Linked DNA regions of Homo sapiens: all the other regions are linked to region 3. Evidence: promoter capture Hi-C in human tissues and cell types (Jung and others, 2019). All regions are on one chromosome and are shown on one strand. The core of a region is centred on a gene start or on the middle of the fragment in contact, and the rest is flanking DNA. Distances in the headings are between cores, read along the strand shown. Region 1 overlaps AGAP1 (ArfGAP with GTPase domain, ankyrin repeat and PH domain 1). Region 2 overlaps AGAP1 (ArfGAP with GTPase domain, ankyrin repeat and PH domain 1). Region 3 holds the start of GBX2 (gastrulation brain homeobox 2).

Evidence for each region. Contacts are between HindIII fragments. The study calls those that stand out against the background at their distance.
Region 1: a contact is called between a fragment that was not itself captured here and the fragment with the promoter of GBX2 in region 3, in 1 of the 25 tissues and cell types used here (mesendoderm cells).
Region 2: a contact is called between a fragment that was not itself captured here and the fragment with the promoter of GBX2 in region 3, in 3 of the 25 tissues and cell types used here (H1 embryonic stem cells, heart right ventricle and spleen).

What each region holds. Positions count from the first base shown.
Region 1 is chr2:235,980,254-235,984,734 of GRCh38, reverse strand. All of the region lies in intron 13 of AGAP1 (ArfGAP with GTPase domain, ankyrin repeat and PH domain 1), which reads right to left. All of the region lies in intron 1 of LOC124907999 (a long non-coding RNA gene), which reads right to left. Among named protein-coding and RNA genes, the nearest start is that of GBX2-AS1, 180 kb to the left of the region's middle. The HindIII fragment of the contact is 4,487 bases long and covers 1-3,828 here.
Region 2 is chr2:235,917,491-235,922,062 of GRCh38, reverse strand. All of the region lies in intron 11 of AGAP1 (ArfGAP with GTPase domain, ankyrin repeat and PH domain 1), which reads right to left. Among named protein-coding and RNA genes, the nearest start is that of GBX2-AS1, 250 kb to the left of the region's middle. The HindIII fragment of the contact is 4,419 bases long and covers 188-4,572 here.
Region 3 is chr2:236,166,870-236,171,714 of GRCh38, reverse strand. GBX2 (gastrulation brain homeobox 2) reads left to right here and starts at 3,329. Exons shown (of 2, transcript NM_001485.4): 1 at 3,329-4,266. The coding sequence starts at 3,744. It overlaps GBX2-AS1 (GBX2 and ASB18 antisense RNA 1), which reads right to left and starts at 4,273. Exons shown (of 2, transcript NR_186035.1): 1 at 4,046-4,273. LOC124906126 (a long non-coding RNA gene) reads right to left here and starts at 2,689. Exons shown (of 2, transcript XR_007088136.1): 1 at 2,331-2,689; 2 at 1,919-2,186. RefSeq lists an enhancer at 4,198-4,845. The HindIII fragment of the contact is 12,753 bases long and covers 1-4,845 here.

The DNA of each region.
Region 1 (4,481 bases), core at 336-2,835, 190 kb after region 3:
TCGGCGAACTAACACAGGAACAGAAAGTCAAACACCATAGGTTCTCACTCATAAGTGGGAATTGAACATCGAGAACACATGGACACAGAGCGGGGAACAATACACACCAGGGCCTGTTTGGGGGTCGGGGGTGAGGGGAAGGAACTTAGAAATGGGTCAATAGGTGCCGCAAACCACCATGGCATATGTATACCTATGTAACAAACCTGCACAATCTGCGCATCTATTTTTTTTTTTTTTTAAGAAATAAAGGAAAAAAAAAAAGAATTTGGTGGTTCCTTGAAAAGTTGAACAGAGTTACCATATGACCCAGCAATTCCACTCCTAGGTTTATACCCTAGGAAAAACTGAAAACAGGGACTCAAACAGATACTTGTGTGACAATGTTCACGCAGCATCCTTCATAACAGCCAAAAGGCGGAAACAATCCAAGTGTCTGTCAACAAACAAAATGTTGTAAATCCACACTATGGAATATTATCCATCCTTTAAAAAGAATGGTGTACAGACACATGCTACAACATGGAACATTATGCCAAATATAAGATGCCAGACACAAAAGGATCCATATTCAACTATCATATGATTCTTTTGATATGAAATATCCAGATGAGGCAAATTCACAGACAGAAAGCAGGCTGGAGGTCACAGGGGCTGGGAGAAGTAGGGGCTGGGGAGTTGTTGCTTAATGGTTAGCAGATTTCTGTTTGGAGTGAAGAAAATGTTTTGGGAATGGCGGTCATGGTTGTCCAGCACTGTGAATGTGAAAATATAATTCAACGGCACTGAATTGAACACTTAAAAACAATTAAAATGGCAAATTTTATGTTACATACAGCCATGTATCCCCATCGTTAAGTGATGCATTCTGAGAAATGTGTCGTTAGGCGATTTTGTCATTGTGTGACCATCACAGAGTCCATACATAAGCCTAGATGGTGTGGCTACCACACACTCAGGCTATGTGCAGAGCCTATTGCTCCCAGGGCATAAACCCATACAGTATGTGACTGTATCAAAAACTGTAGGCAGTGGCAACACAATGGGAAGTGTGTATTTAAACATCTAACCATAGAAAAGGCACAGTAAGGACACGGTATTATAATCTCATGGGACCACCATCACATTACTTGGTCCATCATTGAACAAAATGTTGTAATGTGATGCATGACTGTATTTTGCCACAATAAAAAAAAGTTCAAAGAAAAAAGAGAATAAGAAAGGGAGAAAAAGACAATGATGAGGTTATGGATGGGAAAAGAAGAAAAAAGAAATTAAACAAGAGAAGCAAGGACAGTCTTACAGGAAAAAGGAGAATGGAAGAGAAAGAAGGAAAGGAGAAAAAGGGGCCAGAATGTAGAAAGTGATGGGAGGTTGGTGCTGGAGAGGAGGAGCTGAACAAAAGGAGGGGGCCTAGCAAGGGGAGAAGCCCCTTGCCCAGACCCCTGCCCCGGTGGATGCCCTCCCAGCCATGTTCCCTGCAGCAGCGCTGGTCCTTTGCACACCTGTAAAGAGACCCTCCTGCAGCTCCCCTTGCTGGGCACTTCCATAACCCCCCATCCTGTCCCTTCTCTGGGGTCGTCCACCAGCCCCAGCATCCTGGGAGACCCCTGAGGCCAGCTTCCTGCTCAGCAAATGGCCCTGCAGCAGTGAGCACACCTCCACAGACCAGGCTGGCTTAAGGAATGTCTCCTCATGCTCACACATCGCTCATCTGAACAGTGTGGAGGAGTGTTTGCAAATGCTTTTTAGGGGTTGGGAAAAAAAATTAAAATAAGAACTGGATTTGGCCTATAAATGAATGGGTATCAAATCTTGTCTCAGAACTCAAGTAAAAGAACGTGGGAAAAAGTGGCTCTCCTGGGCAAACTAAGCTGATGAGCTGGCAATCAGAAACAGAAGGTAACAAGTCACTGATGACAGTAACATATTAATCTTTGAATGTCCAGAAGGAAAGAAAACCAATTTCCCATCAATGACATTCTGGAACCACTCAGGGCACAATGGTGGAAGTCTGGAAAGAATGGCAGCCAAGGGCTGGCTTCGGTTCTTTCCTTCCACGAACGGACTGGGCAAGTATTTCTGTGCTGCTCGAAAAGAAACAGGGCCTAAACCTTCTCTATGTTCCTTCAATGAGCCTGGGAGAGCAGACAACGAAGAGGAAGGTTGAAAATTCTTATCTTCAGTAGTCCCCTAGAACCAATGATAATACAGGTTACTTTTACCATTTATGAGTTCTTCAAACCAACACCCCACAACAGCAGTGCCTCATTGCATGAATCGTCCCCCCTTCCTTCTGACCTCCTAGCTATGACCCTCCCAGCTGATGTCCCCACGGTGTGCAGAATAAAGTAATATTTTGGGGGAAAATCATGAAAATAGTTATAGATCTTAAATTGCTTAATTAATTGGCCCGTTGAGGTAATTATATGTTAATTGTAAGAGTTACTCTGCATTCACAGCTAAAAGTGTTTCTGCATGTTTACTGACTCTTTGATTCTCTTTAAATGTGAGAAATGGATTTACTTGTCCAGGTAAAATTACCAGGCTGCGAAGAGATCATCATTATATATGCCAGCTTTCCAAAATTACAGCCTTTGAAACTTTGATCATTTGTTCTTCGTGGATCTGGTATTTTCTAAGTGCTGTAAAAATGCATTCTGTCAATCTGCTGAAGCACAGCCTCGGGTAAAATGTCAGAAGTTTTTATGGTTGGAATATTAACTTATTAAAATTAAGAAACACTCTTCAGATAACCCATAATAAAACCCCTTATTTTATATGAACTTCTTCTGTAGGAAGAATCCTAGACAAGCCAAGATTCGGAGGCAAGACCGCTGAAAAGACAAGCGCCCCCTTCCAAGGGAAGGGAAGGTCACCGTGGAGATGTGTTAGAGGCGGCGAGCACTGCTGCCCTCGCCTGGATCGGTGGCCCTATCGCTGCTTTCTACGTCTATGGCCTTGAGCAAGTTACTTAAACTTTATGACCCTCGGTTTCCTCAGTTATAAAAATGCGGATAACGGCACCCACCTCCCAGGTTCTTGTGAGGGTTATGAGACGCTGCGTGTAAAGCACTTAAGCCCAGTGCCTGACACATGGCAGTGGTCAATAATTGATAGTGATATTATTGCTAATAGATTGTCAACTCTGAGTTTCTGTTTCGTGATTGATTTCCTCTTTGAAAGAGGCATCACTAAATGTGTATTCTGGTAGAAAATATTTTATTTTCATGAAATTCAGAAAGAAAAAAAATAACACCGTGTGTGTGTGTGTGTGTGTGTGTACGCATGGAACATGAACTTAGAAATTCTGGTCAGCTCTCTTAGGGGTGTTCTGGTAACCATGCCTACAGTATATCATGGCTTCTGCAGAAAACCAACTGAAGGGGAAAATCATTCCTACCTGAAGAAAGCAAGAAAGACCCAAATGAATAATCAAGCCAAAGAACAAAGCTACCTATTTATTTAATTAAGAAGAGTCAAATCAAGTTATTGAAATACCTGCTGGAGCAATGCTACGGCTCTCGTCCCTCATATAAGCTTAGTGACCACAGGCCCCGAGGCAGCATGTGTTGGCAAGTTCAAGACAGACTTTGAGAAACATCTCACAGTGATCACATACTCTGGGGTGTCTAATTCCTTAGCCTTGCACAAAATGTTAAAACAAAAAAATAAAACACCTTAGAAGTTTTCCTAATCATTCTAAGACAATCCGTAAGACAAGAATCAGAATTAAGAGCATAACAGGAGGAGGCAAAAAATCTTGGTTTATACCAGTTTTCACTTCTACATAGTAACATTGGTTTAATTGTCTGATTTTCTTAAGAGGCAACATCATGCCTCATTTTGGTAAGAAACAATCCCATCCTTTCAAATGTCCCCAGACTTCAAGCTCAATAGCGAGGGGAGGGAGGAAACAATGGGAGAAAGTCTTTTGGGCACAGGGTAGCAGGCTGAGCCCAAACCTAGCAATGCTGACATGAGCTCCACGGTCACACGGAGCGACCACTCAACAGTAGGAAGAATTCTCTGCCTATTTTCCTGCAGATGAAAAGATCTTTAGATAATTAATGCTTTTATGCCAAGATGGAAACTAACCGCCAGATCTCCTCAAAGCTTAGAGCCTCCCCCGGATCAATCCGGGAACCTGAACACAGTGGCCACATAATTGAACCTGTCCTCGACGCTCAACATGTGTGCTCAGCGGCAAATGCGGTGAGATATCTTAAATATTATCAAACACTGTATCATTAAACAGAAATTAGACGGAAACAAGGGAAGCCTAAAAATTGACTAGGAGTTCGGATGCTCTCAATGGCTAATATGTCCATTTTTCACCTGAAGCCCTCTCCAAATGCAGTTTTGCTATTAAGCAAAACCCAAAGAAAGGTAATCAATTCCAACTAAAAAGCACTTATCCTGGGATGACGATGTACAAGGCACTTCAAACCCCTGGCTGCCTGCCAAAACCCAGACAACAG
Region 2 (4,572 bases), core at 1,148-3,647, 250 kb after region 3:
CAACTGGATGAAGGAGGCGACGTTAACAGTCACATCACTTCAAACTAGGCCTTCGCCATCTGTTCTGTCCTCTAATTACAAACCCAAAAAGAACAGAATTCACAACACTACCATAAAAAGTGAGACACACGATTTAAGGCCTGTGAATGGGGCCCATTCGCTCCTGTATTTGCATTGGAGATCTGCCTTGCTTTTGGCAAGTGGAATTTCAGGCTGAGAGGATTTTTTTTCCAAGGACACATTCAGTATCTTATAAGATGTAGGCATTCGGGACTCTGCATCCTGTGATACTTGTTTTGTAAAAGAGTACAATTCAACATATCTACTAGGAAGACACAAATCTGGTGTTTCTTGATACCTTTTGTTTAGTTAAGAGATTTTCCATGTTATGTTTATCAAGACAGAGTACAGAGTTCAGACCTAGTCACAATGACAGATGTAATTACTACTAAATACAGCAACGTGGCCAGGCTTAGGATTCCACATCCTGGAATTACACAGCTCTTTCCTACAACGTAGAAACAGCTCATTGTATGCTGCTTTCTCCCTGTTCTAAATTATGATGTCAAGGAAAAAAATAATGGGGGCCTATTTTGTTGTACTGTTAAAATATACTTGGCAAAAGTACAGATATACAAATAATGTAAACTAAATCCACCAAAATCTCGTCTAACAGATCAATTTTTTATTGAACATATGCATACATTGTTCTTGGTTATGGCCACAGAAAAGATATAACTTTATACACTTCTTTAATATGATTTCCTAACCATTTTCCCCATGTTGTTATGTAATCTTCATAATTTTAGATATGTAACATTATTGATTTAATGTAGATAATTTATATCACCATTTTTCTACTTCTGGATAGTTTTGGTTGTTTCCAATTTCTGGCTATAAACAACACTGCAAAGGACATCTTCTACTTTTGAATTTTCCTTAGAAGAAATTCTCAGCAGCGTTATTACTGGAACAAACAGCATAATATATCTTTCTGATTCATGATATATGTTGCTAATTAATTTTCTTAATGACCAGTAACTAAAAGAAGATGGAACCTGGGCATCTTTAAAGCAATTTAGTCCATAATTTCTAAGTGGATAATAATAATAATGAAGAAATGGTGATAATGATAACAGTATGCCCCATGTGGTTAATATAATGATCAAATTATGTAAAGCACTCTGTAAACTGTAAAACCTCTGCAGATATCAGTTATTAATCTCATCAACAGTGGGTTTTCCTATCTCTACAGTTTTTTAGCAAAAGCTTAAAATGGTGATGTTGCTAATCTTGTTTGTCTTTAAAATCTAAAATGTCTGAATATTTTCCTTATGTTTCCCTTGTAATGGTGTCTCTTCATGTATGAACTGTGCATGCCATCTGCCTCCTGTTTGCTTTAGTGCTGTAGTTGGCATCACTTTGCTTGAGCTCATTCATTCCCTCTGTGAGTACTTACTGAACACCCACCATCAACTAGTGAAGTGCTTGGTGCTGTGGAGAACTCCACGGCACCCCCCATCTTCCAGCATCCCAAAGGTCTGATGATCAGAGCGATGCCAATGTTGTCAGAGGTACAGTTTACAAAAGAAAGGAAGGAGAGAAAAAAAACAACAACCCTGCGCTTGGGGCACCATGCGCATGCAGCGGATGAAGGACATGGCCTGACAGCAGGTGACAGTGAGCTGGAGCGCCAGAGTCATCCCTTCCCTCCCATCCCTGGGTTACTGCTCCATGTTGGGAGTGGATATCATGTGGCAATTGGTACAATTTAAGACAAAATATTTACCATGTCAGACGCTAAGTTCTCATTTAAGTAATTATATTTAGAAATAAGTGTAAGTATTTATTCTAAAGACAAAGTTGCTTTCTCCAGCCACACAGTTCTACATAACAGAAAAAAGAATATACAGAATCCAGACCCAGTTGCAATGACAAATTTAACGACTACTAAATACATCAACGTGGCCAAGCAGAATTCAACATCCTAGAATTAGACGGTTCGTCGTCACTTCCTAAAACGTGGAGTCTTATTCCGACCTTTGCAAAACAATGTGTGCCATTCTCATTTTGCCATTTTTATCTGCTGAAGGAACACGTGCTGCTCCAGATTCCGACAGTGTTTATGGAGAGCGCCATCGTACGGCTTGTCTTGGCCACAATCCATCTCCTGGTATGGGTTATATGGACAAGCTGATGCAACAGCGAGGATGAGGGGTGTAAGCATTGTGAAGACGGAGAAGAAAAGAATTTTTCTTTGTTTGGTGTCTTCCTTTGCCATGAATAACGGTTCCATCTTTACAATATTCTTTCTCCTTTATATGATAAATGCAACAGGTGTGTGTGTGTGTGTTTTTAACATGAAATTCATTTTCATTTGACAACACTGTTTTGAGGGGAGCGTTCCCCGGTCATCTCTGAATTTTACAGTCCCCTTCCAGGAGCAGGTGGCCCCACAGCTCTATCCTGAGAAGTATTCACTACTACTTCTTTCTCTGCTTTCCAGTTCTTACAAAATGATCTCACAACTGAATCCAGCAATGACACAGGGAAGACAAAGCACCAAGGAGTACCCCGGGCTCACAAGTCTGATAACATGAGGCGGGTTTTACAGGTTTGCTGGTTGGGATGTTACGGGGTTTGACCACTCCCTAGAAATACTCCAGAAACGCAAACGTTCACTATATGAGTGGTAACTCAAAACAATGGGCCACAAGGTTTCGAGATGGAAAAATGTCACGATTACTTCGAAAAACTCTCCTCTGCCAGTGTGGGAAAGGACTGCAGGAAGCAGGGAAGCCACGGACTCAACTCTAGCCTGGAAGAACCAGAAGCCCTTTCCCAAGGCCTCGGTTCTCACTGGCCCCCGGGGCTGGCAGCTGGCTCCCTGGTGGAGGGGGCGCGGGTAATTCACAGAGGCTCTTCCGGGCACCTCCTCTTTCCCACAGCTGACCCTGCAGACCACTTCGCTGGTCTCGGAAGCATCAGTTCAGCAGCTGAAACACTATTCCTCCCTGCCCACACACATTTTTGAGAGAAAAAAAGTGTTTGAAGCACCTTTTATTTACTTGTAGGCACACCTGTTACCACATCCAACTCAAGGTCCTGGCCATCCCCTGATATGTCTCAGCTGAAATCATCAGGAATCAAGTTGCTTTAGTTGGTTCTTTCAGAAAAGAACACTCCACTTAGAGTTCAAATAATTGAAGCTATCCTTAATTTAGGAAGTACAATACTTACTTCTGAATTACACACCAATGCTCAGGACCACAGAGAGCTACTACAGGGGAACATTATCTGCAGGAAAGCAACTAATCTCCTCAACATCCATCACTTACATTTAACATGATGGGTAACATGCAGGAATATATACCTAATGAGAAAATAATTGCTAGGTCACAAAACTAAGAGAGGATAACAAAGAAAGAGAAGTAACAGTGTATGCCTCAAAGAGTTTACAATTTAATGATGGAAACAATACCACACGAATTTGCCTAAACCTCAGTGGGAGCAATGTATAAACACGGAAACAACTAATAGTGAGAACGCATTGCTCATAAAAGCTGAAGATGCTGCAATTCTTAAAAAGAACTAAGATGAACTTTAGTGTCCTCTAATGTCAGATTTAGCTAACTTTCTGATGTCTGAGAAGCCTCACAAAACATTAACATTTTCCCTAAAAATTGTCAAATAGACATTAAAACCAATTCCAACAAAACCTGGTTTATGAAAGCAGATATCACATGCTACTGATATTGAGGTTTTATTTCAGAAAAATAATTCTCGACCAGTAAGGCTTCCATTTGCAAATGGTCTACCAAGGTGCTAGAAGGGTACTTAGCAGAAGCTTCCAATTTATATGTTGTAACCAAGATCCAATGTGTGGAAAACTCCCGAGTGACCTTGGTCGACATGAGTGGGAAGCAAGGATCTGTGTTCCACCAAGCCTTGGCCACACCGCATGCCGGCAGGGGACAGGTGTGGACTGACACTGCTCATCCAGGGCCCACAACAGACTCCGGACTCCAGAGTTATTATAATGTTTTCTAGACCGTTTGAAACTAAACAAAGAAAAACTTTCTTTCCATGAGACAACAACGGGTCTAGTTTTGATGTCACGTTATTTTTTTTTAATAGCTATTACCACTGAAACAGCAGCTTCGCGACTCCGCGTCTGCAGTGTGAGCAGTTTTGATAAACAGCCTCTGCGGGCCACACAACGGGGATAATGTATCCTTAAGTACCGCCAATGAGCTGCCATTCTGCACAGCCAATTACTTCTGTGCGTCTGTCACTCAAAGGAAAAATGACTGAGCCCATTAGATCAAACCTTTGTCACTGTTCCTAATGCACTCTTAGGCCTCATTAATCTCCGGGAGCAGCAACAGAGCCGCCGGTGCCTCATTGCCTCCCCCGAACAGGACCACGTGAAGCCTCTCATCTCTCCCCCAAGTGCACCACGTTAATCAAGCTCTCCTTATTACCCCGGTCCCTGTCACGGCGGAGAGCGCTCCCTCTTAAATGCTCTCATTATGACCCATCTTTAGAGCCGGCTAAGTGGAAAAAAAGAGA
Region 3 (4,845 bases), core at 2,080-4,579:
GTCGCCTAGGACTGGGCGACTGGCGGGAGCGCCAGACCCTCGAGGCCCGCAGGATTCCCCGCGTCCTCCGAGACCACGGGTGGCCACACCGTACCCTCTCCACGACCACCCGTTACCTCGACTCTGGCGGCGGCAGCGAAGCGCGCCATTCGCGGTGCTTCCTCCTCCGGATTGGGCTGGGCTGGGCTGGGCAGGCCAGCACAAGTTTGCTGCATGAATATTCATTTACTTGTGCGTTTTCTATTTCACCCTCAACCTTCATACATCTGCATGCAAGCGCAGCCTGGGACAACCCCGAAGCGAGGGGCCAACTTAATTACCATCACTTTTTCGGAATGTCTGAGGTTTTAAGTGGCATCATCTGAACCTGACACTAGCCTAGCACCTGTCGAGTGAAGTGCCCAGGGGCTGAGCTATCTTCATCTAGGGGGGAAGAGGGGAGGGAAGTTCACGAAGTTAACTGGAGTTGGAGGACCCAGCTCTCCCTTCGGGTGCGCCCTTCATTTTTCCTAATTGGAGGGGGGAGGGGACCAAGTTGCAAACATCTGTGCCCGGTGATTTTCCCGCGTAGACTGGGCCGAGCTGAGTCACGGAGGACTCTGCAGTTTGAGGCTGTTACGAGCTAAGCAGGTAGGAATCCGGAGGATGGATAAGCCATGCATCTATCGCTCCTGTCCATAAATCTATCCGAGGAGCCGAGGAAAAACTCTAAAGGCTTTTATTATCCGCAGTCCCCACGCTCTGAACGCTTTGCAGGTAGCTGAGGTGCCCCGAATGCATCTTGTTAATCACGCCGAAACACAAGGATCCTTTTATGACACGAACAGTCGTTTTCTAAGCAGCTAAGCATTAGATGAGAAAGTATTACTGCATTGCATTTGCGAAAAAGGCACTAGTAAATAAAATTCATATTGATGGGAATTATCTGAACTCACTAATAAAAGATTAGTATTATAACCCCTGCAGTCAATACTTGCTATGGCAATTTATGGATGCAAATAACATGCCATCAAATTATTTCAAGTGCAGCTATAATTCGACGGACCTAAATCTTCTTGCTGAACTTTAAATGTAGAATAATCACCAAAATAATCAAAGGAATCCCTGCCTCTCAGAGGGTAATCAGGCGACAAAAGTCCCTAGAACAATATTTTTGCGGCGAAATAGCAAAGTGCATGGCAAACCTGCCTAGGTAAAATGAATAACAGCTTCCCCCGGCATGTCAGTGGCAAGCCGGAAGGGCCCCGGCTGTAGCCACGTAAATCAAGGAAGGAATGGAGCGTTTCTTAGTATTCAAAAAACAGGGTAATGGCACCCAAGGCTGTGTCACTGTAACTATCTCATAATGAGGGGGAGTATTTATTATGCTCATAAAGATATCAGCCTTTTGCCCTGGGCTTCGATTTTTTTTTTCTTTTTCTTCTTTTCTGGGAGTGAAGAAGGAGGGATAGAGCCTGGAGATCCCACAGACACCTCCTTCTCCATGGATCCCAAAGGGAATTCATTTCCCCTCACACTGCCTAAGCCACCTCGGGGTCTGGGCGTGAAGTCAGGGGAGGCAATCCAGGCAGCGTCCTAATGAATTCCTTTCAAACCGCCTGCTGCCGGAGCGATCTATTACTGCGGCCTGGAGTGGGGAAACGCGATCGAGACGTCTTTGTCCGGGTGGTGGTAGGGAGGGAGGAGGCGAGGAGGAGGAGAGGGCTGGCGGCGGACCAGCGAGTTTTCCCAGCGTCCCGGGGCGCCAAGGACACACCCTCCCCTCTTTCCTCCAGGTCTGCTGGGTGGGCAGTGGGTCTCCGGCGGGACTCCTGGCAGAGGAGCTGATCTGGGATTAAGACGTCCCCCGGGGGGCCTTGGGGCTAGAGCGAGAGAAAGAGGAAGAACGCGAAAAAAGAGCTTCAAAGAATCGGGTCGATAAATTCATAAAGATCGATTTATCTTTATCTCCCAATTAAATGTGCTTGTAAGTGATACATAACACACGTCCAACACGGGCCAACTCCCCAACCACTAGCTCCTCGGCGTGAGCTGATTTTTAATGACCGAACTAACAATGCCCTTCTTTCCTTCTCCCCAACCCGGTGCTGTTGGCGGTTCAGGGCTGACGTCTAGACCCGGGAAGTTGAAGCCCGGGCCTTGGAGACTCGAGGAAGCCCCGCTCGCGCTGGTGCGCTCTGCACGGTCTGCCGTTGTCAAGAAGTGATTCCATTTTTAAAGGGAAGACAAGAGCTGAAAGTTTTTTGTTTGAAAATGGAAGAGGGGATAAGTACGTCCCTAGTTTCCCTCCACCCCAAAATTCCCTTACTTTCAAATTTGGGGGTCTTTACCGTTGTCGAGAACAGGGGAAACATCCTGAGGGGATCGGCTCCATCCTGCAGTTAGCAAAGAGGAACCGCGCGCCCTCGAGTCCTCGCGCTGGAAACCGGGCGGCGGCGCCAGGGTGAGCACTCCTTGCGTTCGCAACGTGCTTAATTAGCGCCTATTTACAAAACGCAGCTTTTATTTGAGCAAACATCATAAAGCTTTCATCAGGATAATCTCACGTTATACAATCTGGAGGCACAGCAACTCCCCCCTTCCTCCCCGAGGATGGAGCAGATAAAGGACTCTCTTTATTATCATAATTATCGTGGTTGTTATTTTGGTGCGCGCTGGCAAAGTGTGTAAATAGGTGCGATGATTAAGAATGTCATGAAAAATGAGAGACGGGATCGCTCACGGGAGGGCCCAGCCCGGGATGGGGGAAGCAGCAGCCTCCCCGCCCCACCCGGTGCGCGGACCTACAGCGAGCAACCCGGCGGGTTTCTGGCGGCGGGCAGGCGCTGCCAGCTCCCAGCCTTCGCCCCGGGGGTGGCTCCGGAGGGGCAGGACCCTGCCCCCAACTCCAGGACCCTCGCCCGGACCCCAGGCGCAGCCGGAGCACCCAGCGCTGGAGTGAGCCGCAGGCAGGTTGGTTCCATGGCAAATACAGTAAAAGAAATAAAGCGCCCCCGGCCCAGCCGTGGGGGTGCGGGCCCCGGAGGCTACCCTTCGAGGTGGCCTCGACAAGGCTGCAGGGCCCCAAGGTCCGAGCCTTGGAGGTGCCATCCGCCCGTCTCAAGTTTGCGCGGCACGGGCTAGGCATGCAGGCTCCGGCTCCCCGGCCCGCGCGCTCCGACGGTGGCGCCCGCAGCCCGCTCGAGGCCAGCTTGGGTGGAAAGGGCGGGGCCCCGCTTTCGCCCCACCCCCGCCCCGCTCAGCCAATGGCCAGAGGCGCCCAGCCCCACGTGAGGCGAGCCGGGCCAGGCGGCAGGCAAAATGTGAATGAGAAAGAGGAGCGCGATTTAAAGGTGCTGGCTGCGCCCGCCGGAGATAAGTACGCCGGCTTCGCGCGCTCCCCAGCGGCCCGCGGGAGGCGACGGACGGCGGGACGGACGGACGGACGGCAGCTTACCGGGGCCGAGGGCCAAACCCGCGAAGCGCGCGGGCTCCGACGGGCAAGCGGCGGACGGGGGCTCCGGCGAGCCCTCGGGGCCCGGGCGCCCTCTCCACTCCGGGGCGCACGGCCTCACCCCGCACACCCCCTGCACCCGCCCGGCATGCAGCGGGCCCAGGACTGAGGGGCGGAGGCGTCTGCTCTCCGGGTCCCGCTCGGCCCCTGCCCGGCGCTCCCGGCGGTGCTCCCGGCGTCCGGCGGGCTTCCCGGCGGCGGCGCGGCGCGGGGACTTTTCGCCTCTCGCTGGCCTCTACCGAGCGCGTCTATGAGCGCAGCGTTCCCGCCGTCGCTGATGATGATGCAGCGCCCGCTGGGGAGTAGCACCGCCTTCAGCATAGACTCGCTGATCGGCAGCCCGCCGCAGCCCAGCCCCGGCCATTTCGTCTACACCGGCTACCCCATGTTCATGCCCTACCGGCCGGTAGTGCTGCCGCCGCCGCCGCCGCCGCCGCCCGCGCTGCCCCAGGCCGCGCTGCAGCCAGCGCTGCCGCCCGCACACCCTCACCACCAGATCCCCAGCCTGCCCACAGGCTTCTGCTCCAGCCTGGCGCAGGGCATGGCGCTCACCTCTACGCTCATGGCCACGCTCCCCGGCGGCTTCTCCGCGTCGCCCCAGCACCAGGAGGCGGCAGCGGCCCGCAAGTTCGCGCCGCAGCCGCTGCCCGGCGGCGGTAACTTCGACAAGGCGGAGGCGCTGCAGGCTGACGCGGAGGACGGCAAAGGCTTCCTGGCCAAAGAGGGCTCGCTGCTCGCCTTCTCCGCGGCCGAGACGGTGCAGGCTTCGCTCGGTGAGTCGGCGGCGCGCGCAGCCGGGACGAGGGGGCGGGAGGAGGCGGGGGCGGGCCAGCGCCGGGTTCCCGCGGGAGACCAAGGGGGCGAGGCCGCGCCCCCGCTCGACCCCCGCGGGAGGAGCTGGAGGATGAGGCCCGGCTGTGCCGCTGGGCCTCCGGGGGACATTCAGAGCCACCCAACAAGCGGGGTCTCGGGAGGGGGGGCGTTTAGCGCCCGGCGACCAGCTGCTGCCCTGGGCCACATATCTATCTGACGATGCGTTTGGCCGAGGCCGCCTCTGCCGCTCCGCGGTGACCTGGGGTTCCGGGTAGGTTGCAGCCTCTAGGGGAGACGGGTTGGGCTGCGCGTCTCAGCCGTGCGTGTGCCCAGGGGCGCCCAGACTTTTTAAACCCCTTCGCTGGTCTTGCTACTTGTCTGGGAGAAACGGACTGCTGGGAGGCTGTGCCTGTGTGTTTGTGTTGGGGGTGTCTGGTGGGAACTTATAAGGCCACAAAACATCCCTTTGACCAACGTTGTCTGTCTCAAAAAAGATGGTCTGGGATCTGCACGTCCCTACGCCTCCACTCCGGTTAGGA